Regions from separate parts of the Homo sapiens genome. Here regions 1 and 3 are each linked to region 2. Evidence: promoter capture Hi-C in human tissues and cell types (Jung and others, 2019). All regions are on one chromosome and are shown on one strand. The core of a region is centred on a gene start or on the middle of the fragment in contact, and the rest is flanking DNA. Distances in the headings are between cores, read along the strand shown. Region 1 has its middle 41 kb from the start of VPREB1. Region 2 holds the start of VPREB1 (V-set pre-B cell surrogate light chain 1). Region 3 holds the start of LOC105372952 (a long non-coding RNA gene).

Region 1 (4,746 bases), core at 1,001-3,500, 41 kb before region 2:
TCCCGGCCCGTGCTGACTCAGCCGCCCTCCCTGTCTGCATCCCCGGGAGCAACAGCCAGACTCCCCTGCACCCTGAGCAGTGACCTCAGTGTTGGTGGTAAAAACATGTTCTGGTACCAGCAGAAGCTAGGGAGCTCTCCCAGGTTATTCCTGTATCACTACTCAGACTCAGACAAGCAGCTGGGACCTGGGGTCCCCAGTCGAGTCTCTGGCTCCAAGGAGACCTCAAGTAACACAGCGTTTTTGCTCATCTCTGGGCTCCAGCCTGAGGACGAGGCCGATTATTACTGCCAGGTGTACGAAAGTAGTGCTAATCACAGTGAGACAGATGAGGAAGTCGGACAAAAACCAAGGTTTTAAGCTTGTCATTTTTACTGAACTGGTTAAGAACTTCAGTGGTTAATAAAATCACATTAAATACTGGATTGTTGTTAAAAATGGTGGCACATTATAACTCTCTCCCATTTTTTTCACATAATGCCCATAGTGACTCTAAGCAGCTAAAATCAAAACACAAAAACTTATACCAATACTAAGAAATACTAACATTACTAACCAATTTCCACTAGTAAAAGAGTTGTGAAACAGCTGAAATACATCCAGATGGCATAATACATAATACCACTATATACAAGAGTTGTATAAAATTATGTATCATGTATATATAAAATTATGTATCATGTATATGTATAATATATGAAATAAAATGTCAGCAGACATTACCGTCTTCCCACCAGTAGCCAGCAATTCTGCCCTGCCTCTAGAATAAATGGTTACCATGGGTTGAATAGGTGAACAGCCCTGGCAGCTCTGCAGGATGACTCTCACTGTTTGTTATTGTTTTATTTTTAAGATTGCTTTTCTTTCCTTTTTTTTTTTGAGGCAGAGTCTTGCTGTCAGCGAGGCTGGAGTGCAGTGCAGTGAGCTGGGCTCACTGCAACCTAAGCCTCCCTGGTTCAAACGATTCTCCTGCCTCAGCCTCCTGAGTAGCTGGGATACAGGCGTGCGCCACCATGCCTGGCTAAATTTTTTGTATTTTTTAGTAGAGACGGGGTTTCACCATGTTGGTCAGGCTGGTCTGGAACTCCTGACTTCGGGATCCGCCGTCCTCGGCCTCCCAAAGTGCTGGGATTACAGGCGTGAACCACCGTGCCCGACCTCTTTTTTTTTTTTTTTTTTTTTTGGTTTTGTTAGTTTAGTTTTGTTTTATCTCTTTAACTTGACAGAGATGATCCATGTGGATCTCTGCATGGGTCTGGGAGCTGCAAGGCTCCTGGTGCATGGCCCAGTCCCGCCTGCCTTGGCAGGGCTCCTCCACCTGGCTCCTGGAGGAGCTGCTGCGCCCGACTACCCTGCATGGAGCCCGCGGCTTAGCGGCAGCTCGGGAGGGGCCTGATAGAAACTTCCCCCTGAGCAAGCAGCGCCAAACCCAGGCCGCCACCCAGGATGGAGGCTGCATCACCCCCGGGGAGCCCGGATCCTCGCCAGGGTCCACCAGGAGAAGAGCACATGGCGGAGATGAGCCTGCGGGGCTGGGAGAGAGAGAAGACACGGCGAAGATGCAGGTGAAGACGCTGCACTAAGGCCCCACCCAGAGGCTGAGGTTCCCCGACCAGACCAGCAGCAGCGAGGCTGCCCAGAGCGGCGCCAGCAAGGTGGTTCTCTCCAGGTCGGATCACAGGAGAAGCTAGCCTTGCACCTGGCCCAGGCGAGAAGCAGGACATGGGCTTACGCAGAAGAATCAGCACCGATTCCACATCATTCCCCATGGCAACGGCCTCTACGGTGCTGTCAGCAAGACCCAGTGCTAGACCCGAGCCTGCACCAGGAGCTGCGGAGCGGAGGGTGCGCCCCATCCCGATCGTCTCCACCACTTTAGCTCCCTGGGTGAGGGTGACACGGGGAAGCTTATTATCGCGGCTGCCCAAAACGGGGCGTGGCTGGGTACCCTGTGTACATAGGGTAGATGCTGAATGTGAATAGCACTGAACTACTAGAGGGAGGCTGGAGAGGCCCACAGTGTCTATCTACCATGATTCATTATTTGGGCCCAGAGGATTGCCTAAAGCCTAGTATTTGGCTCAGTTGGCTCAGTAACGGGCACTAGGATGCAGTATTTGATCACTCCTATCCTAACCAAGTACGACAACTGGTGCAAACAGACTCAAAAGCAAAAGGCAACGCAATGAATAACTTGCTCACTCTGGGGCCACATATTCTGAATAAAATGCCTACCCTTGAAATGTCTGAAAACCTTACACCCTGGGAAAATTGCATACAGAACTTGTGCTTGGAGAATGACATGAACTCTAATCAGGGTAATAACACTTGTAAAGTTCCTAACAGCTTTTCTTTCCTTTTTTTTTTTTTTTTTTTTTTTGAGATGGAGTTTCGCAGTGTTGCCCAGGCTGGAGTGCAGTGGCGCGACCTCGGCTCACTGCAAGCTCCGCCTCCTGGGTTCACGCCATTCCCCTGCCTCAGCCTCCCGAGTAGCTGGGACCACGGGTGCCCACCACCACGCCCGGCTAATTTTTTGTATTTTTAGTAGAGACGGGGTTTCACGGTGTTAGCCAGGATGGTCTCAATCTCCTGACCTCGTGATCCACCCGCCTCGGCCTCCTACAGCGCTGGGATTACAGGCGTGAGCCACCGCAGCTGGCACTTCCTAATAGCTTTTCTGTGAGTGTAACGCCATAATCATCTTTTAAAATGTTTTCTCGGAACTAAAAGTTGCTGGGCGCCTAAATGATGTTGCATGATAGTTTTGGGTGATTTTACTGCATCTGTAATTTTCTGTTTAAGTGAGCACTGCTTAATTTGAAAGCTAATTTCTCACAGTGTAAATCTGTTCATTCCTGGTAGTCTATTTTCTACAAAAGTGTATTTTTACACAACATTAAAAAATGGTGTACCTTCATCTATGACAGTACATTACTTTTGACAAGCAGCTTTCAGGCAGAAATTAAGAGAAGTGTTTTATATAAAATTTATTATTTTGAACAGAGTTTGTGATTTGGTAGTTACGCTGTTGAAATTTGAATTTTACAATTCTTAGAAACTTATATTGATGCATTCTTGTTACCAAATGATTGGCCCATTACATTTTGATACAAATAGATTTGTTGTTTTGGAACCATTATTTGTTTAGAAATGGTCAATCTTTTAGAGAGAAATACTTAACAAAGGATTGTGGGAAGTTTTTTTTTTTCTTCTTCTTTAACGGATTGTACCAGGTCTTACTTGAATGAAAGTCTGATGCTTGCTGATGGCAGAGTGACTAATCTGCACTAGATTGATGTTAGAGCAGAATGTTGGGTGATCTCAATTGTTTTTATTTATGTTTGTGATTTTGTTTTAAGGTAATCTTAACATGGTATAAGACTCTGTGACAAGCTAAACCTACTGCAATATAGCATGTTGGAGTCCCCTAAGAGTTTTAAAAGCTAATGGCATAAATGCCTGGAGCCAACCTCGGCAGTTATTTCATAGCAGAAGATACCGTCTTAATACTCCTTTTAAATTCTTTTAAAAGGCAAAATAGGATCATCCTATTTTATAATGTACAAATGTCTGCAGAGATTGTATGGTTTGTTGTGTTAATGTTTCCCACCTAAAATCTATCATATTGCCACTTTGCCTAATTGTAGTCACATTTATTAAGTAATGCAGTTTGTACTTTTTATTTTGTAACATTCTGTGATTTTTGTACAACATTGTATTTGTACAATACAGCAATTCCCAGTTGATTGAATGAATAAATAAAATGTAAAATCATACTTTATAAAAAGATCTATGTGGCTGATAGAATTCTGACATTCCCCTCCAAATGGAAAGTGATGTGTTTCTTTAAAGTAAAGGTAGAGGAGTCTTAAATATAGGTGTTCCTGCCCCTATTGAGAGGTTTTCAAAACATGCTCTTAATTTAACGTTTAAATATACCAGAGTCTTAGAATGTGAGAATAATGAAATTGGTTTGTTTTAATTTTGTGATAATATTAAATCTACTGGAAAGAATATTCTCCTTTGAAAAGATTCTCAGCTCAGTGATCATAGAACCTGTACTTGCGTTTAATTCAATGAGGAAAGACATAGAAATGCCACGTTAATATCCTCATTTAGGTGGTTTCTCCCTTCACTGATCAGCCTATGAATGTGTCAATGCAGTACTCCCCAGTTTAGGCTTAGGTACTTATTGAAAGGATGCTGCCTGAGCATTTTTAATAATTGCTATTTCAAGATCACATTTTGGCCGTGAGGCAGGCTGCCACTCACTTTAGGCTCTGCCTAGGCAGGAATGGGTCCTGGAAGACACATGTTCTCTCTCTCTCTCTCTCTCTTTCACACACACACACACACACACACACACACACACACGCACACACACACCCCTCTCTTCTCTCTGGGTACACATTATTCTGGACATCTTCAGTTTCCAGGATTCTCTATGTCTCCAGCTAGAAGTCAGGGCTTAGCCTGTGGTGATCCAGCCACCCTCAGGTTGAATCTCGATGAAGTCACAGGAACCACCAGTGGCATGGAGGGTAAGGGATCCTGCTATCAGGTTCAGCCAGGAAATGCTCTGGACACCTGCTGGTGGAAAAGTTTAATGCTGGGCAATCACAGGTCAGGTCCCTTCTTCCAGTCGGCAGTTCAGCCTCCCTGACTTTCTCTGGGTTCCAGTCAGTGCATGAGGATGATGGTGACATTTATTCAGGGGCAGCACAGCAGCCTCAGTCACCACCAACA
Region 2 (4,458 bases), core at 1,656-4,155:
TGTGTAGGAGAATGAAGTGCAATCTTGGATAGACCTCCAGTGCAGGTGGTCCAGCCATCAATGACCATAACCACATGCATGATTGTAGGTGGAACCAGAAGAACCACCCAGGCAACTCACAGAACTGGGGAACTAATCAAGTCTTGTTTTAAATGACTACATTACGGGTGGTTTGCCACGTAGCAGTGGATCGCTGAAACAGTTTAAAATATCTATTCAGCCGGGCGTGCGGTGGGTAGCTCACACCTGTAATCCCAGCATTTTAGGAAGCTGAGGCAGGAGGATCTCTCGAACGCAGGAATTTGAGACCAGCCTTGAGCAAAATGGCAAGACCCTGTCTCCACAAAAAGTAAAAAAAATTAGCTGGGTGTGGTAGCATGTGCTTGTAGTCCCAGCTACTTGGGAGGCTGGGACAGGAGAATTGTTTGAGCCCAGGAGTTCGAGGCTGCAGTGAGCTGTGACTGCACCGCTACACTCCAGCCTGGACAACAGAGTGAAACCTTGTCTCTAAAAAAAAAAAAAAATCTACAAACCAGGCAGGAGCACTGAATAGCTCCTGTCTCCCCTGAGACCCTTGTAGACCTTGAGGTCTGTTACAGAGCTCACCAACCTTCTCTTGGTCTAGAATTATCTAAAAAGAGTTGAGTGCAGCCAGAAAGGACTGAATACATGGTGTTCTTCAATCCCATCAAACTGCTGTGCCCTGCAGATGATCCCTGAGTCCAGGTGTTGGTGGGTTGAGGACAAGGCTGAGGGAACAGAGGTGGGAAGAGTGGCCCAGGGCCAGGAGAATGCAGAGTTCAGAGTGCATGACCTGCATCTAACTCTAGATGCTCCAGGGGTCTGAGACCATCTCCAGCAGGGTCTGGAAGGCCCAGTCATTCCCCAGCACGCACAGTCACCACTGGATACTATCTTGCTCTGTGAGTGATGCAAAGGTCCTGGGTCAGTGAAGCCTGTGAAAGAAAGTTGGGACCAGAGTGTCTCTACGGTTGAGGGCTGGGCTTATTTGCTCTCTAAGTATAATTGTAAGAGCAAGTAGAAACACCTATCCTCTCTGAGCTTAAAAGGATCAAAAAGCTCTGACAGTGTCAGTGGTAGGGCTAGTTCAGGGACTGCAGTAGTGCTGGTGCCCACAGGTGGAACCTTCTCCTGCCCTGATTCCCAAGGACTGGTGCTCTCGGAGGGGTCTGGGAGGTATATTTCTCTTTCACAAATACGTGCACAACACATGAATGAGCTACTGGATGAGGGAATAAATGAATGAATGAGTGAAAAAAGCTTCCTTTCTCCTCTCCAGGAGTCAGCAGTCACTGGTTAGTTCCCCACTGCCCACCAGCCTGTGCAGAGGAGGGAGGAGCAACAGGTCATAGATGTGGTTGCAGCTGTTACTGGACAGAGTGGTCAAGACATCCTGTGTCTGCAGAGGCCCTCCCCAGCCCTCACCTGGGCAGTGGAGCTGTTGGCCAGAGAGGCAGTGGGAAGAAGGGTGGGGCTCCCAGAGTCGACCCTGCGGGCTGAAACTGGTGCAGCCTGCACCTCACCAGGCAGAGAATGGATGTGGGGCAGCTTGACACCGAGCAGGGGCTCATCTGAGCCTCAGGGGTGGTTGCTCTATCAAAGTGTTTGCAAGTAAACAGTCCCAGTGCACACCCAGCTGCTCAGTGCCACCTCGTGCACCCAGGGACACTTCAGCCTTGATCACAGGCCTGCACAGGTTCCAGGGGAGGAGACACTCCAGCTTTTTGAGGGAGGGTGAGCATGTGGGATCAGAGACTTTAAGTCCAAATTTCCCCTTAATTTTTTTTTAAATCTTGCAGGTAGTATGCAAACATACATTTAATGTATTATTTTTATTCTCATTTTTTTTTTGAGGCAGGGTCTCCCTCTGTTGGCCAGGCTGGAGGGCAGTGGTGAGATCTTGGCTTGCTGCAGCCTCAACTCAACCTCCCAAGCTCAAGTGATTTTCCCACCTCAGCCTCCCAAGTAGTTGGGACTGCAGGTGCCTGTCCGCCATGACCAGCTAATTTTTAAATTTTTTTTGTAGAGATGGGGTTTTGCCATGTTGCTCAGGCTAGACTCGAACTCCTGAGCTCAAGTGATCCTCCCACCTTGGCCTCCCAAAGTGCTGGGATTATAGGTGTGAGACACTGCATCCGGCTCCCAAATTTCCCCTTTTTATAAGGACACCAGTTGTACTGACCGGGGCCCCACCTCTATGACCTCATCTAACCTTCATTAACTCCTTAAAGGCCCTATCTCCAAATACAGGCACACTGGGGGTTAGGGCTTCAACCTATGGATTTGGGGGATGCAATTCAGTCTATCACAGTGCCAAGCTGCACCTGCTCGGTGAGCCAGAACAGGGGTGGGGAAGGCACCAGGCCCTGGTGCTTCTTTCCCATGCCTGAGTCACTCTACTTGGTTCTAGTAGGGAGAGGAGCATGGGCCGAAGGCAGTGCTGCAACATGGAAGGGGCAGAACATCCCAACCCGCTCTGGGCCCCCAGTGTCTTCTGCTGTACAAAGCAGGTGTTTTCACCCCCCGAGGATGTGTCCTCCCTTCCTGGCTCACCAAGCATTTAAATGTAGACAGAAAATTTATTTATCTGGGGTGCGGTTTCCTCAGGGGGAAGTTGAGGTCACGACCCCTGAGGTACCTTAACCCAAAGGCCTCCAGGGCACTGGCCCCAGAGTCTCCAGCAGGTGCTTCCTCCCTGAATGCTTCCATATGGCAAGATCAGAGCCACAAATGCTGCCCCGACGCTGTTCCGGTAACCGACGTTGCAGACCCAAGAAAGTCTGGGATGGTAGTGGCCAGGAACGGGGTGTGCCACGGCCCCACCTCTCAGAGCAGGGAGGAGGATGCTGGGCCAGCCCTTGGGGACCCCAGGCACCGTGGCCACAGGAGTCAGAGCTCTGCATGTCTGCACCATGTCCTGGGCTCCTGTCCTGCTCATGCTGTTTGTCTACTGCACAGGTGAGGGAACCCCCAGATCCCAAAGACTCCTGCCCCTTCCTTCATCCTGCCCTGCCCCCACGGCCCACATGCATCTGTGTCACCAGGTTGTGGTCCTCAGCCGGTGCTGCATCAGCCGCCGGCCATGTCCTCGGCCCTTGGAACCACAATCCGCCTCACCTGCACCCTGAGGAACGACCATGACATCGGTGTGTACAGCGTCTACTGGTACCAGCAGAGGCCGGGCCACCCTCCCAGGTTCCTGCTGAGATATTTCTCACAATCAGACAAGAGCCAGGGCCCCCAGGTCCCCCCTCGCTTCTCTGGATCCAAAGATGTGGCCAGGAACAGGGGGTATTTGAGCATCTCTGAGCTGCAGCCTGAGGACGAGGCTATGTATTACTGTGCTATGGGGGCCCGCAGCTCGGAGAAGGAGGAGAGGGAGAGGGAGTGGGAGGAAGAAATGGAACCCACTGCAGCCAGGACACGTGTCCCTTGAACTGAAGACAGCAGAGGCACGCATCCCCTTGGAGAGACTGTCATGGAAGAGGGTGGAGTCGCCGCCCGAAGCGCCGAGGAGGCTGAGCCACTCAGCATCTCCTGGTCCTGCAGTGTTGCTGTAAATCCCCATTGGAGACTGCATTAGGGAATTAAAGCTGCTTGTCACTTTTTGCTGAGTTTGGTCTGACTGTTGTGCGACTTCGTAGTACCAGCCTTGGGCAAAGGCCCGGGGCCCCGGGAGACTGGCAGATCACTGTGGTGAGCACTCACCTGAGTCCTTACTTTTGTGGGCCATGGGAGGCAAGGGGTTGACCGAAGCACCCTGGAGGGGCATCCATGCCCAGGACAGGACCCTCTGGTGTCATCTGATTCTGCCCAGCGGTTACAGGGCAAACAAGCTTAGAAAGCACCTGGTCTGGGCCTCCAGGGAGAACAGGAGCCAGGTAATAGGCCTAGAGTGGGTTCTCCACCTTGGTCCTATCGACGTTTTGGGCTGGACAGTTCTTGGTTGTGGGGCTGTCCTGCGGATTGTTGAATGGTGAGTGGTTATCTGTGGCCTCTACCCACCAGATGCCCCTTCCCAGTTGTGACAAACAAAAATGTCTCCAGACATTGCCAAATGTCCCCAGGTGGTAAACTCACACTGATTGTGAACCACTGGTCTAGATGAGCAAGTAAATGCATTTACTTATTTGTACAAGAGAGTGGCAGGTGTCGGCAAACATGTTCTTTTTTTCCTTTTTTTAGGGATAAAGTCTTGCTCTGTGGTCCAGGCTGGAGTGCAGTGGTGCAATCATAGCTCACCGCAGCTTCAAACTCCCAGGCTCAAGTGATTGTCCTGTCTCAGCCTCCTGAGCAGCTGAGACTACAGGCGTGCATCACCATGCTTGGCTATTTATTTAGTTTTATTTTTGGAGAGATGAATGTCTCACTATGTTGCTCAAGCTGATCTCAAACTCCTGAGCTCGAGTGATCCCCCTGCTTGGGCCTCCTAAAGTG
Region 3 (4,542 bases), core at 1,913-4,412, 56 kb after region 2:
CACCATGGGCATTACAGCACCCCATAGCGCCCTCAACCCGAAACCGCCACCCACCCCCCCACCGCCCACAGCCGCACAGTGCAGCCCCGGATAGCACACTTAGCCCACCTCACTGTTGCCAGCAATACAGTCTGGGATAGTGCCCCCAACCGGCTCCCCGCCAAAGGCAGTGCAGCCCCGGTTTGGGCTCCCAAACCATCCCCCCGTGCAGGCAGCACAGCCCCAGATAGCACACCCAACCAGCCACCCAAGACGGGCAGTGACGCCTGAGATAGGGCTCCCAACCGGTCCCAGGCCACCCGCAGTGCAGCCTGGATAGCGCGCTTACCCCAACGCCTTTCTACGCTCTGGCTGGCTGCAGTGTCCATCGCTGCCACCAACCACAAACAGGGCTGCAAACAGGAAGGATTTTATTCACCGTCGATGCGGCCCCGAGGTGTCCCAAAGCGAGGCAGTGCCCCCAAGGTCTGTGCAGAGCAGAACGCAGCTCCGCCCTCGCGGTGCCACCGGCCCGCCCGCCCGGGTCTGTGCTGAGGAGAACATTGCTCTGCCTTCGCTGTATCTCCGAAGTCTGTGCAAAGGAGAACTCAGCTCCGCCCTCGCAAAGGCACACAGCGCCGGCGTGGCGGAGAGGCGGACAGCGGCGGAGAGGCGGACAGCGGCGGAGAGGCGGACAGCGGCGGCGCGGCGGAGAGGCGGACAGCGGCGGAGAGGCGCACAGCGGCGGCGCAGGCGCGGAGAGGCGCACAGCGGCGGCGCAGGCGCGGAGAGGGGCACAGCGGCGGCGCAGGCGCGGAGAGGCGCACAGCGCGGCACAGCGAGGCGCCGGCCCAGACTCCACTCCCCAGCTGTGAAAGGGTAAGAACTGAGGGTGGCTGAGACTCGGGGTTGTTCAGGGCGGGGTGGGCTCTGGACCCAGCAGGCCCGGCACCCAGGTCAGGGCTCCAGGGGAGGCCAGGTGGGCGAAGGCCAAGAAGGGGCCGGGGCTGGTCAGGAAGGGCTCCTGGTAACCAGAGCACTTTGCGTGAGCCAGCGTGGGAGGAAGGTGGGCTGGATGAGCTAGGGAGGCGCCGGGAGGGGCCTTGGCAGAGGCGACCCCCTCCGTCAGCCCCCAGGCCACTGAACCCTGGGTAGCGAGAACCGACAGGGGAGGCTGCATACAGAGGAGTGGAGGCTCCCCGGCTTTGGGGGCTCTGAGTAGAAGCATCTAGGGGGTCCCTCAAGAGGCCCCCAAACGCCTCCCCATGGTGAGAAAAGAAAGCGCAGAGAGGGGCACGGCTGTGATTTCTTTTATTGCCCCAAATGTACTTCATCTTGGTAGATTTCTATTGGCTTTAAAAATGTGTGTGTTTTGCTGTTGGGGAGTGGGGTGTTATACGGATGTCAGATTTTGCTGGTTGACTGTTCAGATCTTTTGTAAATCCTTGCTCCTTTTCTGCCTAGTTTCACTCTGTCACTTACATTAGAGTGCGGTGGCACGAACATGACTCACTGCAGCCTTGACTTCCTAGGGTCAAGTACTTCCCCTGGCTTAACCTCCTGAGTAGCTGGTACTATAGGTGTGTGCCGCCACACCTGGCTAAATTTAAAATTTTTTGGAGAGATGAGGCCTTGCTATGTTGCCCAGGCTCGAACTCCTGGCCTCGAGCTATCCTTTGTCTTTGCCTCCCAGAGTTCTGGGATTACAGGCATGAGCCACTGTGCCCGGCCTCTGCCTAGTTTTAACAGTTGCTAAGAGGAGGATGTTGAAGTAGATGTCTTCTTGGTGGGTTAATCCTTTTGTCATTAAGCAGTTGTTATGGTCACTTCCTTTTCACCCCATTGGTGAAGGAGGGGTCCCTGCCCTAAAGTGTAGGAGATGGCTGAACACGACACCTGGCGTGGATGGATGAGATTGACAGCAGTGTTTTAGTCACATATACCCACAGCTCAGAGGAGGACACTGCATGCCACACAGGGTCAGATGGGCACCGCACTCTGTAGCGGAGTGAGGGCTGTGGGCTGAGGAAGCAGGCAGGCTTGATAGTAACAAGAGCACACAATGACCAATGGTTCCCGAGGGGGAATGCAGTTGGCTTGTTTGAATAAATTCATGGGCTGGCAGACAGGTGAAGTGAAGCTTCTTAGGCTGAGGTGCAACTGTTTGGCTGATAAAAGAACTAGCCAGGTGGGGAGCCTTTCCTGTTGGGTGGCAGGGTAGGGGGTGTCTGGTAGAAACAGGAAAACCCACGGCTAGGCCTTTGGGGCCCTGTGAGGCTCAAAGATGTCAAGGCAGCATAGGAAATTTTAGATCTTAAAATTCAGCGAAGACCCTCTCCAGCTCTGGTAAATTATTTTGCTTGAAGTCTACTTCATGAGATATTAATATATTCACTCCTGCTTCCTTAAAAAATTAATGATTTCACAGGATATCTTTCTCCATTCTTTTACTTTCAACCTACTTAGGTCCTTAAGTGAGTTTGAAGTTTCTTATGAACAGTATTTAGTTGGGCCATGTGTTTATTATAGGCTCTCCATCAATCTGTCTTTTGGTTTATTTAGACCATTTACATTTAAGGTGCTTATAGTTACATAATTGCTTATGTCTGATGTTTTTATTATTTGCTTTTTCGTTTCCTTTTTCTTTCCCTCCATCTTGATCTATTTCTGTATAATGTTGTTGCTCGTATCTCTTTGTATAGTCTTAAAGTGTTTGCTCTGGATGTTACAATATGTGTATTGTAATACAGTAGTCTACTGGTACCAGTATTTACCACTTCAAAGTGTGGAAACCTGCCTTGCATTTATGTCTCTTTACCTTTTCCACTTGTATAAATCACTGGCTTGAGTATTAGGTGGTGGTATAGTTTTTGTTTCAGTCGTCAAATGTGATTTTAAGAACTGTGGATTGTCTCGCGTATGTATCCACATTTCTGGTCTTTCCTTTGTCCCTCCTCCTATAGTCCCATATTCATCCCTTCTGCATAAGAACTTTCTGTAGCCATTTTTTTGTTTTGATTTTTTTGTTTTAATTTTTTGTATTGTGGAAATGACAGAACATATTTCTGTAGCCACTTTTTAGCATTTCTAAATTGACCAGTGACAAATTCCTATATTCTCTTCCTCTGAGAATGTCTTTATTTCTCTCTTCATTTCTGAAGGGTAGTTTCATGGGATATAGAATTTGCAGCGAACAGTTTTTTTGTTTGGTTGGTTTTTTTGTTTGGTTGTTTTTTTTTTAAACACTTGAAAATGTTGTGCCACTTCCTTCTGGCCTCCATGGCATTTGAGTTGGCGTGTCCCTACAGGCATTCTGCCATTTTTGGTCTTTGTTTTTAGTTTTGAAAGTTTAATTGGTGTTGCTTTCTTTTGGTATACTTTGAGGTTTGCTCAGCTTCTTGAATCTGTAAGTTTATATCTTTCACCAAATGTGGGAAGCCTCAGGAATTAGTTATTTGCATGCTTTCACAGCTCTGGTCTCCTATGGGACTCAGATAACATAAATGCGGGGTTATCGTCCCACAGGTCCGTGCAGCTCTGTTCATTTGTTTTCAGGTTATTTTCTCTCTCTTGTTTAGACTGGGTGAATTCTGTTGATCAGGTTTCAGCTTCTCTGATTCTCTCCTCTGTCGTCTCCACTTTTACTCAATAGGGCCCATCCAGTTAGTTTTTTTAAAATTTCTGTTACTGGATTTTATATTTCTGTAATTTCCATTTGATTCTTCAGTTTCTTTGCTGATGTTTTCAGTTCTTTGATTGTTGCCATAGGATTTGTAGTTGCTTGTTGAAGCATTTTTATACTGACTGTTATAAGTGATGAGTCAGATGGTTCCAACATCTGCCTATGTAATTTTTTTATTTTTGCAGGCAGTCCTCCTGTTTAGGTTTAGTCTGTAGGTCTTGGTCTACTTTGTGGGCTGTGATTCCAATGGCAATTTAATTTCAGAGCCTTCATGGTGTTATTTTGGTCTCTTTGGCTTATATGTATCACTGGGATTCTCCCACCAGTCCCTGTTGTTGCCCACCTGAGGGAACAGGGGAGCCGCCCTAGGCTGGGCCACCTGCTGCAGCTAGGTGGGTGGGGAATGGTGGTTGTCTTGGTGTGTGGAGCTGGTTTTCTTGTTGTGGGGAAGATCTCCTTTGATCTGCGGGGACTGAGTCTGCCTGGGTTGCCTTCTATTGCTACGTTGGGAGTTGGGAAACTCTGGGCCTGGGTCACCTTCCTATTGGATGAGGTCCAGGGAGACACCTGGCCACTATGCATTCCCTAGTCCTAGAGTCCCTCAGCAGCCTTTTTCTGTCCACCTTTTGGAATTCTCCATTGATCCTCTCCTGTCTATTATTTCTAGAGTTTGGGTTACATTTCTTAGGAGGGTATAATGTGTTATCTTCTCTAGACCAGAAATCCTTAGTGGTGGTTTCGGGTTGTAACTGTGCTAAAGGGAGAATTGGCGTATTTGTGATGTCGGGTCTTTCTTTTCAAATGAGGACATATCATTATTCAGTATATAATATTTACAACACCTACTTCCTTGGGTTGAAGAATGTGGTTAAGGCAAGGAA

What was found. Contacts are between HindIII fragments. The study calls those that stand out against the background at their distance.
Region 1: a fragment that was not itself captured here is called in contact with the fragment with the promoter of VPREB1 in region 2 in 5 of the 25 tissues and cell types used here (dorsolateral prefrontal cortex, mesenchymal stem cells, mesendoderm cells and 2 more).
Region 3: a contact is called between a fragment that was not itself captured here and the fragment with the promoter of VPREB1 in region 2, in 1 of the 25 tissues and cell types used here (bladder).

What each region holds. Positions count from the first base shown.
Region 1 is chr22:22,201,847-22,206,592 of GRCh38, forward strand. It overlaps IGL, IGLV11-55 and the pseudogene LOC100419915. Among named protein-coding and RNA genes, the nearest start is that of VPREB1, 41 kb to the right of the region's middle. The HindIII fragment of the contact is 6,097 bases long and covers 1-4,746 here.
Region 2 is chr22:22,241,881-22,246,338 of GRCh38, forward strand. It overlaps VPREB1 (V-set pre-B cell surrogate light chain 1), which reads left to right and starts at 2,906. Exons shown (of 2, transcript NM_007128.4): 1 at 2,906-2,979; 2 at 3,066-3,635. The coding sequence starts at 2,934. The coding sequence ends at 3,457. It also overlaps IGL. The HindIII fragment of the contact is 13,267 bases long and covers 1-4,458 here.
Region 3 is chr22:22,297,354-22,301,895 of GRCh38, forward strand. It overlaps LOC105372952 (a long non-coding RNA gene), which reads right to left and starts at 799. Exons shown (of 3, transcript XR_938055.3): 1 at 329-799. It also overlaps IGL and the pseudogene BMS1P20. RefSeq lists a silencer at 592-891. The HindIII fragment of the contact is 4,401 bases long and covers 963-4,542 here.